3 separate regions of the Homo sapiens genome follow, and all the other regions are linked to region 2. The links are contacts of gene promoters, found by promoter capture Hi-C in blood cells and fetal thymus (Javierre and others, 2016). All regions are on one chromosome and are shown on one strand. The core of a region is centred on a gene start or on the middle of the fragment in contact, and the rest is flanking DNA. Distances in the headings are between cores, read along the strand shown. Region 1 overlaps TIPARP (TCDD inducible poly(ADP-ribose) polymerase). Region 2 holds the start of CCNL1 (cyclin L1). Region 3 overlaps VEPH1 (ventricular zone expressed PH domain containing 1).

The links. Contacts are between HindIII fragments. The CHiCAGO score rates a contact against its expected background, and 5 or more counts as called.
Region 1: a fragment that was not itself captured here is called in contact with the fragment with the promoter of CCNL1 in region 2 in 7 of 17 cell types (naive CD8 T cells, M2 macrophages, total CD8 T cells and 4 more); the score reaches 8.8 in naive CD8 T cells.
Region 3: a contact is called between a fragment that was not itself captured here and the fragment with the promoter of CCNL1 in region 2, in 4 of 17 cell types (M0 macrophages, M2 macrophages, monocytes and 1 more). The highest score is 7.1, in M0 macrophages.

The regions. Positions count from the first base shown.
Region 1 is chr3:156,696,961-156,700,494 of GRCh38, forward strand. The region is part of intron 4 of TIPARP (TCDD inducible poly(ADP-ribose) polymerase); the gene reads left to right. Among named protein-coding and RNA genes, the nearest start is that of TIPARP-AS1, 23 kb to the left of the region's middle. The HindIII fragment of the contact is 2,761 bases long and covers 905-3,534 here.
Region 2 is chr3:157,157,865-157,161,553 of GRCh38, forward strand. CCNL1 (cyclin L1) reads right to left here and starts at 2,283. Exons shown (of 11, transcript NM_020307.4): 1 at 1,928-2,283; 2 at 1,541-1,615; 3 at 1,002-1,111. The coding sequence starts at 2,230. RefSeq lists enhancers at 1,495-1,564, 2,198-2,927, 3,015-3,064, 3,085-3,144 and a silencer at 1,705-1,914. The HindIII fragment of the contact is 11,903 bases long and covers 1-3,689 here.
Region 3 is chr3:157,439,822-157,443,510 of GRCh38, forward strand. The region is part of intron 4 of VEPH1 (ventricular zone expressed PH domain containing 1); the gene reads right to left. It overlaps PTX3 (pentraxin 3), which reads left to right. Exons shown (of 3, transcript NM_002852.4): 3 at 2,545-3,689. The coding sequence ends at 3,158. Among named protein-coding and RNA genes, the nearest start is that of PTX3, 4.8 kb to the left of the region's middle. The HindIII fragment of the contact is 806 bases long and covers 1,597-2,402 here.

The DNA.
Region 1 (3,534 bases), core at 1,035-3,534, 460 kb before region 2:
TTAGTGATTCTAATCCCATGTTTGGAAGGGGAACAGTAAAAACAAAATACAAATAAAAATCCCTGAAATGATCAGTATCCAAAAGAAATTTGTAGTAAGATTAATCTTAGAAATATATATTGGATTGGGTTAAGTGTGTTCTTTCTTCTAAGTGCCCGTTAGAAAAATTTTACCTTGTAGGGTTTCTTAAAAAATTAGAACTAGTAAAAATGCCATTTCTGTGATTTTACTAGCACAGCTGGAGATAGTGTCAGTGTCCAGTAGTTAGGAATATATTGTCCTCCTGGTGAGATAGTAGAACCCATTAGTGAGACCAGCAGCTTGGCATGCTGAGCCAATCAAGCAAGATAGAACTTCTGTGTGAGGGTAAGAATGCAAGTTCTGCATTGTTGGAAAGTTTCGGTGAATGGTGAAAATGCGTCTGTTTTTATCTCATGATAAGTAATTATGGAATATGCCCTCTTTTTTTTTTTTTTTTGAAGCTTAGGCTTGTTTTGTAAAAGTATGAACTATAAAGATAATATAAGCAGCAATACAATTAATGCCACAAATATGCCTTCATTATACAGGCATATCTTGTTTTATGGTGCTTTGCTTTATTGTACTTCACAGATAATTGTGTTTTTTACAAATTGAAGGTCTGTGGCAGCACTAGGTCAAGCCAAATCTATTAGTGCTGTATTTTCAACAGCATGCGCTCATTTTGTGTCTCTGAATCATATTTCGGGTATTCTTCGGATATTTCAGGTGTTTCATTATTATTGTATCTGTTATGGTGATCTGACCGGTGATCTTTATGTTACATTTGTTTTGGGGTGCCAAGAACAGCACCCACATAAGACGGCAGAGTGTTCAAGTGAAAGGAAGAGTTACACATCTCTAAGTCAAAAGCCAGAAATGATTAAGCTTAGTGGGGAAGGCATGTTGAAAGCTGAGATAAGCCAAAAGCTAGGCCTCTTGTGCCTTAACATTAGCCAAGTTGTGAATACAAAGGAAAAGTTCTTGAAGGAAATTAAAAGTGCTACTCTGGTAAGCACACGAATTATAAGAAAGTAAAACAGCCTTCTTGCTAATATAGAGAAAGTTTTAGTGATCTGGATAAAAGATCAAACCAGCTACAACATTCCCTTAAGCCAAAGCCTAATCCGGAGCAAGGCCCTAACTTTTTTCAGTTCTTTCAAGGCCGAGAGAGGTGAGGAAGCTGCAGAAGAAAGTTTAAACCTAACAGAGGTTGGTTCATGAGGTTTAAGAGCCCATCTCTCTTATAGAAGTGCAAGGTGAAGCAGGGAGTGTTGATGTAGAAGCTGTAGCAAGTTATCCAGAAATCTAGCTGAGATCATTGATGACAGTGGCTAAACTAAACAAGAGATTTTCAGTGTAGACAAAACAAACTTATATTAGAAGAAGATGCCATCTAGGACTTCATAGGTAGAGAGAAGTTGATGCTTGGCTTTAAAGGACAGGGCTATCTTGTCAAGGGCTAATGCAACTGGTGACTTTAAGTTGAAGCCTAGGGCCCTTGAAAATTGTGCTAAATCTACTCTGCCTGTGCTCTATAAATGGAAAAAGTGTGGATGACAGCACATCTGTTTATAGCATGGTTTACTGAATATTTTAAGCCCACTATTGAGACCTGCTCAAGAAAAAAAGACTTATTTCAAACTATTACTGCTCATTGACAATGCACCTGGTTACCCAAGAGCTCTAATGGAGATGTACAGATTAGTGTTTTCATGCCTGCTATACAACATCCATTCTGCAGCCCACTTATCAAGTAGTCATTCTGACTTTCAAGACCTCCTATTTTAACAGTATATTTTGTAAGGCTATAGCTGCCATACATAGTGGTTCCTTTAATGGATCTGGGCAAAGTAAATTGGAAAACTTTTGGGAAGGATTTACCATTTTAGATGCCATTAAGAACATCGTGATTCATGGGAGGGGGTTAACATACCAACATTAACAGAAATTTGGAAGAAGTTTATTTCAGCCCACATGGATGATTTTGAAGGGTTAAAGACTTCAGTGGAGGAAGTCACTGCAGATGTGGTGGCAATAGCAAGAGAGGTAGAAGTAGAAGTGTAGCCTGAAGATGTGACTGAATTGCTACTATCTCATGATAAAACTTGGATGCATGAGGAGTTGCTTCTTTTGGATGAGTAGAGAAAGTGGTTTCTTGAGATGGAATCTACTGGTGAAGATGCTGTAAAGATTTTTGAAATAATAAAGGGTTTGGAATATTACATCAACTTAGTTGATAAAGCAACAGCAAGGTTTGGGAGGATTGACTGCAACTTTGAAAGAAGTTCTGCGGGTAAAATGCTTTCAGATGGTACTGCATGCAACAGAAATCTTTCATGAAAGGAAGGGTCAATTAATGTGGCAAATTTCATTGTCTTATTTTAATAAATTGCCACTGCCACCTCAACCTTCAGCAATCACCACCCTGATCAGTCAGGCCATCATCAAGGCAAAACCCTCCCACCAGTAAAATTACTATGACTCACCAAAGGCTCAGATGATTGTTAGTGTTTTTTAGCAATGAAGTATTTTTAAATTAAGGTATAAATATTGTTTTTTTAAAGAATGAATGCTATTATGTACTGAATAGACTATGGTATAGTATAAACATAACTTTTATATGCACTGGGATACTAAAAAATTGTATTACTCACTTTATTGTGATATTTGCTTTATTGCAGTGGTCTGGAATAGAATGCTCAATATCTACTAGGTAGTCATATATTGATAATATGGGCTTACAAGAGAACAAAAATAGTTACTCTTTATTTTCCTTTTTCTTTTAAAAATTTTCTATTTTAATCTTTCTGTCTAAAACTGATAATCAGGTATAAAGTAAGAGATCAGCAAATCAAAGAAATATTAAACTTCAGTGAGAAAAGAGCAGAGAAATAGCCAGTCCACCAGGGTGGGATGGGTAAATGCAGTGATCCTATCTACCCTAGAGTGTGGGGCTGAAGGACCTAGTAGGGAGAAAGATGAGGGGAATTGGTTCCAAAAAGCATATTTTAGAAGTAGATTCCAGAGGCTATGATCTTAGCCAGGGAAAATGTTTCTTTTTAAGTGGTTTTTGTTTTGTTAAATTTTTAAAACTTTTTTATTTTTTTATTTTTTATTTTTTATATTTTTTAAAACTTTTTTAGAGACAGAATTTCCTCTGTCGCCCAGGGTGGAGTGCAGTGGTATGATCATCATAGCTCACTGTAACCTCGCACTCCTGGGTTCAAGTGATCCTCCTGCTTTAGCCTCCCAAGTAGCTGGGACTTACAGGTGGATGCTGCCATCCCCAGCTAATGTTTTCTTTTTTTTTCTTTGGTGTAGAGACAAGGTCTCACTATGTTGCTGGGGCTGGTCTTGAACTCCTGTCCTCAAGCAGTCCTCCTGCCTCAGCCTCCCAAGTAGCTGGGATTACAGGCATGATGTTTTGTTTTTAAGTGTTATTAAATGCAAAGGATAAAAAAAAAATAGGTGTTAAAGAGGCCACAATTCTCAGGGAATCAGATGCCTAAGAGT
Region 2 (3,689 bases), core at 1,033-3,532:
TTACAGATTCAGCCAATAAGGACTACTCATATAGAATACTAACAGCACTAACCAACATACCCAACCCCCAGAACAACTTATAATCCTTTTAATAACTTCCTTTCAAACTCAGTACAATTTGTCTAACATCACTACAATTCCTTAAAGAGTGAATGCAAAAACTATTCTACACCAAATATATCATTCTGCAGCATGTACTGGAAGTCACCTGTAGATGCAGGAAGTCCTGCAACAAACTTTTTGGTACTGCCTCACAGGAACACATAGGTCCACATAAAATTATGTTACCACAACACCTAGGAGATACTATTTCAGTCTCTGTATTTTCTTACAACATCAAATAAATGGCCCTATCTAAATGCAACCCAATCAATCTTACTTGTTAATTTTCTAACCCACTCACTGAGACTGTATCTAACCAAAACAAAATACCTGTTTAATCCCTTTGACTTCAAACTTCAAACTTTATCATCCTGCAGTCCTTTCAGATCCGGTATTATTCGATTTATCGTAGTTCAATGTTGAGAAGTACTCTAACAAAAGCCAACCTCAATTGATAAAGAATTAACTGGGACTTCGAGTAGAAAAACATAATCTACACAGAACTTTGCCACAATATTAACTTAAACTACAGTGTTTAAACTTCCAGCCTTCAGTCTTCCAGAGAGGGGAGAGGAAAAATAACTTACAGAATACACTCACACTTGAGCCAAATGTACTCCCTTTCTTGTTTAATCTTAAGCCACAGGCCTGGCTTCACAGCACTGTTAGGATTGTCCATAAATGCAACTGCCTCTACAAACTTTAGATAACCGGTTAATTATGTTTCTTTTTTCAAATTATTTTAAGTATCAGTGTTCCTATATGAACTTTAACACCTAAATTAAAGTCCGTTTTCTTTTGCATCCGTATTCACTTGAAAGGAAAGATGTTTTGATTTGATGACTGGTGCACGGTACAGCAGTAGCAAGAGATACTATGTTCAATAATGCCAATCTTACCTTTTTCCTCTTAACTGGCGGAGGTGGTGGAATACATTAATCACATCTCTTATTCTTCTAGGTGCTTCTTCGATTTTTGATGCAAGATTAATACAAGCCATAGCAACAATCTGAAAGAACCCATGAGCCACAAAAGCCATTGTTAGATTAAACTCACTTTGAAGAATAAAATTTAGAACACAATTGGGACAACCTTTAGTAAAATTAGAGAAGACATCTCTATGCCGTAAGTCTACCAGCTATGCTAGTACTATACTTTTTGTTGTTTAACTCATCTTAATTTTGGTTCCAGAGTCAAACTCAATCTTACAGGAGTTCTGCATTTGGTTGAAAACTGTACTTTTCGTTAAGAGGGCACTTAGGCTCGTGATCGATTTTGAACCACATTCTAAAGGTTTCCACTTCCTGGCGAGTGAGAAGTAGGTACAAAGGCCTAAACTAAACCACTCCCTTTCTGGAAAAGCTGGCTGCTGACACTACCCCTACTCTGCCCATTTCCGGATGAAGAAATCCCTTTTACCCGCCTCCGCTGTGCTTACCTCGAAACTGTGTTTGACGAAAGATTTGGAGTAGAAAAAACGATGAAACAACACCTGCCCCGTTGCCATCGCCACCTGCAGACAAGAGAGGAGAACGGAAGCGCAGGGGTCAGGCGGGCCCGCTCCAGGCGCCGCCGCCATTTTGTGCCGCCGATCGCTTCCCTTTCCCCTCCCGCCGCCGCCGCCGCTGCGAACAGCCCGCTGCCAAGTCCTCCCTCCGCCTCCGCAGCCCCCCGCCCCGGCACGCCCCGGCCGCGGCTGGGCCCCGAACGGGAAAGCCTGAAGGAACCGTCCCCACCCTCCCGGGGCACGGTGATACTGAGATGCGGCGTAGGGGACGGAGGAGAGGAGAGGAGCGCCCGGCCGGCCCGGGGCCGGAGCACTGACCTGCGGCAGCCGGAGGAGAATGCCGGCGGCCTGGATGAGCTCGCAGCCCAGGATGCGTAAGTCCGTCTCACTGGGCAGGTCGAGCCCATCCTGCATGGATGGGGTGGGCGAGAGCCTCTCCTCCGGAATCAGAGAGTGGTCGATGGTAAGTGAAACTTCCGAGTACAGGCGATCGCCGATCAGGATCCCTCCCGTCGTGGTCGTCGTCGTGGTCGTCGTCCCGGAGCTGGAGCCGCCCGCGCTTGGGGCGGCCGATGAGGCGGCTGCGGCAGCAGTAGCTGTCGAATGAGGCCCGGACGCCATAGTCTTAGCGAGCCGCACGCAAGCCCAACGCAGCCGGAACCCGAAACAAGACTAACCAGCGTTCTCGGCGCGACGGATATTCCCGTGACCGCCGGGTTCTGGGCCGCTTCACGCCGCGTGCGCTTCCGCCCTGACGTCACCACGCCGGGCAGCCGCGCGCCAACTAGTCCCTCCAGGCCGCGCCTCCGCCCTCGGCATCTGGGCCTGCGAGGGGAGTGTTGGGTGCTGCGACAGACCTTGGGATCCTCAGAGGCTGAGGAGGCCTTCTCTAGCCAAGGCCGGTCGAAACCACCTTGTTTGTGATAGCCACACGAATAACGGAGCTTTACAAGATCCCTTATACCCAAAATAGAGGTGGCAGCATTGGCTAGCATCTCTGCGCCCCTTCGCCCTGCATTCCGGCCTCTTCCTTTAGCCTCGGCGCGGCTTGCGTTCCGCGTGTACCAAGGGAAGTGGCGGCCGACCTGAGCGCGCTTTGGCGGGTGGAAGTGGTGACTTTGTTGTCCTGTGTGGACGAATGTGTAATATAAAGTGACCCTCAAGGAATCTGGAGAGGGCTGCTTTACAGTATTTGAAGAACACAGGGCTGTGGACCCTATCGGTTCCCAAATGAAAGCTCCCCGGGGAGCGTGTTTTTGCCAGTATGGGGAAGTAGGGCGGAGGCATAGGAATGACCGCGAGAGTGGCTGCTTTCATAGCTCCGCTTGCGAAACTCCTGCCCGGCCTTTGACACCGCCACGGCTTTCAGTAATCTGGAAAATCCCTAGTTTCCAAAAATAGTCTTAGGGCGAGGACTTGACAGAGGTAATTTGATTATGCCTGGGAGTCTCTATTCATACATGGTTACCTACCGCGGGTAGGGTGAGGTCAACCTCGTGTTTTTTGTTTTTTTTCCTGTGATATTAGCTAGCAATTTCCAGCGTTTCCTGAACCTTGAAGTAAAAACAATGATACTGATCTAAACTACTAGAATCTAGGTTGGAAGGAAAGGAATGCATCACGTTTTACTCTTGACGCTCAGAAAGCGATACCCCAAAGACAGAGGCTTTAGAAGCTGCCTCATAATGCAGGTCCCCCAACCTTGACTTGTTGCTCCCACTTTTCCCAAGTGCAGGGAGGTACTCTCTGAAATTTCCTTTCCTGACTAGAGAAGCCTCTTTGTAGAAGAATCAATCGCATTCCTCCCCTCGCTGAAATCTCGTATCCTATTTCAAAAAGACTCAGAAATGCAGCCATTCCTGGAGGGACTTTTTCACAAGATTACTCAAAAGAAAATTATTTACTAATTTCTGTCCATTCATTGTTCCTAATAATCATTTGCTGCTCCTCAAAATAAATGTCTACATTTCTCATCTACCCTTTCCCCTATGAAAAAAAGATATAAAATCTTCTGTACTCCATTAAGCTACTGGGTAATCATCCTCCTGCTTTTACCCCGGTGTTATGTATCCCTTTTCTC
Region 3 (3,689 bases), core at 750-3,249, 280 kb after region 2:
CTCACTGCAAGCTCCGCCTCCCGGGTTCACTCCATTCTCCTGCCTCAGCCTCCTGAGTAGCTGGGACTACAGGTGCTCGCCACCTTACCCAGCTAATTTTTTGCATTTTTAGTAGAGACGGGGTTTCACCGTGTTAGCCAGGATGGTCTCGATCTCCTGACCTTGTGATCCACCCGCCTCAGCCTCCCAAAGTGCTGGGATTACAGGTGTGATTGAACACTACTTTATTGAAACTTTATAGAGACTATATCAAATGCCCATGGATATGGTGATTTTTTTCAGTGATTTTTATTTGATTTTAATTAACACAGCTGGAAGAAAAGATGTACCTAGCAATTTCATTTGAAAATAGAATCACTGCCTCATTAAAAATTAATTTTAAAAAATCTTCAAAAGTTCAAATTATTTAGTGAAAAAGTATCAAAGCATGACAGAGCCAGTTTTGTGTTTTAGTATTGTAGTTACTTTTATATGATTATCTGAATGCCAATATTTTATTTGACTATCCCTAACACTAAAGGATAAGGTTCATATTTGTTTAATGTTTTCAGGATAGAGCCTACCCCTGAGCCACTTGTAGGAATCTGACATAGTTTACCACACTTTTACATGGATGTTTGGTTTCTGCAAGTTCTTTCTCTTTACCAGTTATTCTGGAACCATTCTGGGAGTTTGCTTTTCAAAGCTGTCTTATGGCATATCTTCTTTAGGTTGTTATACCTGCCCTAATTTAGGTGTTTTTAAAAAAATACCTACATACACATACACACATATATATACACACACATTTATATACATATATGTATGTATACATACATACATATCCATATGTATATATGTGTGTATATATACGTATACATACATATATATATATTTATGTATATAGATGCAGAGCTCACCTGTTCTTTCCCAGGGACACGTAAAAGGTTTTCGTTTCAGCATCTCCAGCTTCCCAAATGGCTAAGTCGCCTTGAGATGGACAATGGTGGAAACTTACTGAGCTTTCCACCTCAAATTTGAAAGTCCCCCTCCCAAGTGCTCTTTAGCAGAAACATGTTCTCCAACCAGGCCCCTTGAAAGAATGTACTTCTCTTAAAGATTTTCAATTACTGCTTAAATAGTAATTATAAGCATGTGGACAAGGTAGAATTTTTAAACACATTTTTGGTCTATTCAGCTCTTAAGTGCTACATACTTGCTGCTTACAGACTTGCAGAATATTAGGAGCAGAATGGAAGGGCCTTTTTTAGATAACGCTAAAGCCTAGAGGAAATTATGGTGCTCATCCAAAGTTGCATGGCTCATTAGTAGTAACACCATCTGGATTCTAGCCCTCCTAGAGAAATCTAGGGGTTCTATTAATAAGAGGCACTGTAGTGTGCTGATTAAGGGCGTGGCCTCTGTGACCAGACTGCAAAAATTCAAACTCTAGTTTTACTGCTTATCAGCTATGTAAACATAGATAAGTTACTTTTACCTAAGTTTTCTCATCTGTAAAATAGGAATGTAAAAGACTATCTCTTATGGTTGGCATAAGGATTAAAATGACAAACAAAATGATTAGAACAGTATCTGATACATAGTGAATGCCCAATAAGCTTAGTCATCATTATTATACATTGTTGCCTTTCAAAGGTAGTTTTCTAAAAACTCTGCAAAGTTTACAAATATCTGAGAACATTTGGTGTATTAAAATGTATTCTGCAGGCCAGGTGTGGTGGCTCATGCCTGTAATCCCAGCATTTTGGGAGGCTGAGGCAGGCGGATCTTGAGGTCAGGAGTTCAAGACCAACCTGGCCAACATGGTGAAACCCCGTGTCTAAAAAAAAAATACAATAGTTAGCTGGGCGCAGTGGTGTGCACCTGTAGTCCCAGCTACTCCGGAAGCTGAGGCAGGAGAATCGCTTGAACCTGGGAAGCGAAGGTTGCCGTGAGTCGAGATCGCACTACTGCAATCCAGCCTGGGTGACAGAGTGAGACTCTGTCTCAAAAAAAAAAAAAAATGTATTCTGCAATAACATCACTATCCTAGAATTTTGCTGAAAAATGCATGTTGGTAAAGGCTAAATGGAGCGAACTAGGTCTACTGAATTTCACAGGTTTATTATTTTAGGAACTTGGTGGTGGCAAAAAGAGAGAACCAGGTTGGGTTCTGAATTCTTGGAAATTATAGAATTATTGTCTGAAGTTAACTGATAGTGATTCAACTTTTTTAAAAAAAAGCAGTAACAAAGAAAATATGCAAATTGGAAGGGGAGGTAGTTATGGCTTTTATTATTTTGTGGGTTTGGACTAGTTGGCTCTTCTATTTGCGTGCTTTCTCTTCATTTAGATGCTTCATTGGATAAGACAATTGGCTTTCCTTTTTCTCATTTTCTTTGCTCTGCAGAGATTACAGTGGAAGCTTCTTAAGTCGTAATGTAGGGTTTCACATAGCTTTCAATTGTAATAATTAAAATTCTTATGTTAAATAACTAATGCCAGAATAATTCTGAATTAATTTATATTTTCTTTAATATTCTTCTTATTTTCTTGCTACTCTAGGTTGTGAAACAGCTATTTTATTCCCAATGCGTTCCAAGAAGATTTTTGGAAGCGTGCATCCAGTGAGACCAATGAGGCTTGAGTCTTTTAGTGCCTGCATTTGGGTCAAAGCCACAGATGTATTAAACAAAACCATCCTGTTTTCCTATGGCACAAAGAGGAATCCATATGAAATCCAGCTGTATCTCAGCTACCAATCCATAGTGTTTGTGGTGGGTGGAGAGGAGAACAAACTGGTTGCTGAAGCCATGGTTTCCCTGGGAAGGTGGACCCACCTGTGCGGCACCTGGAATTCAGAGGAAGGGCTCACATCCTTGTGGGTAAATGGTGAACTGGCGGCTACCACTGTTGAGATGGCCACAGGTCACATTGTTCCTGAGGGAGGAATCCTGCAGATTGGCCAAGAAAAGAATGGCTGCTGTGTGGGTGGTGGCTTTGATGAAACATTAGCCTTCTCTGGGAGACTCACAGGCTTCAATATCTGGGATAGTGTTCTTAGCAATGAAGAGATAAGAGAGACCGGAGGAGCAGAGTCTTGTCACATCCGGGGGAATATTGTTGGGTGGGGAGTCACAGAGATCCAGCCACATGGAGGAGCTCAGTATGTTTCATAAATGTTGTGAAACTCCACTTGAAGCCAAAGAAAGAAACTCACACTTAAAACACATGCCAGTTGGGAAGGTCTGAAAACTCAGTGCATAATAGGAACACTTGAGACTAATGAAAGAGAGAGTTGAGACCAATCTTTATTTGTACTGGCCAAATACTGAATAAACAGTTGAAGGAAAGACATTGGAAAAAGCTTTTGAGGATAATGTTACTAGACTTTATGCCATGGTGCTTTCAGTTTAATGCTGTGTCTCTGTCAGATAAACTCTCAAATAATTAAAAAGGACTGTATTGTTGAACAGAGGGACAATTGTTTTACTTTTCTTTGGTTAATTTTGTTTTGGCCAGAGATGAATTTTACATTGGAAGAATAACAAAATAAGATTTGTTGTCCATTGTTCATTGTTATTGGTATGTACCTTATTACAAAAAAAAGATGAAAACATATTTATACTACAAGGTGACTTAACAACTATAAATGTAGTTTATGTGTTATAATCGAATGTCACGTTTTTGAGAAGATAGTCATATAAGTT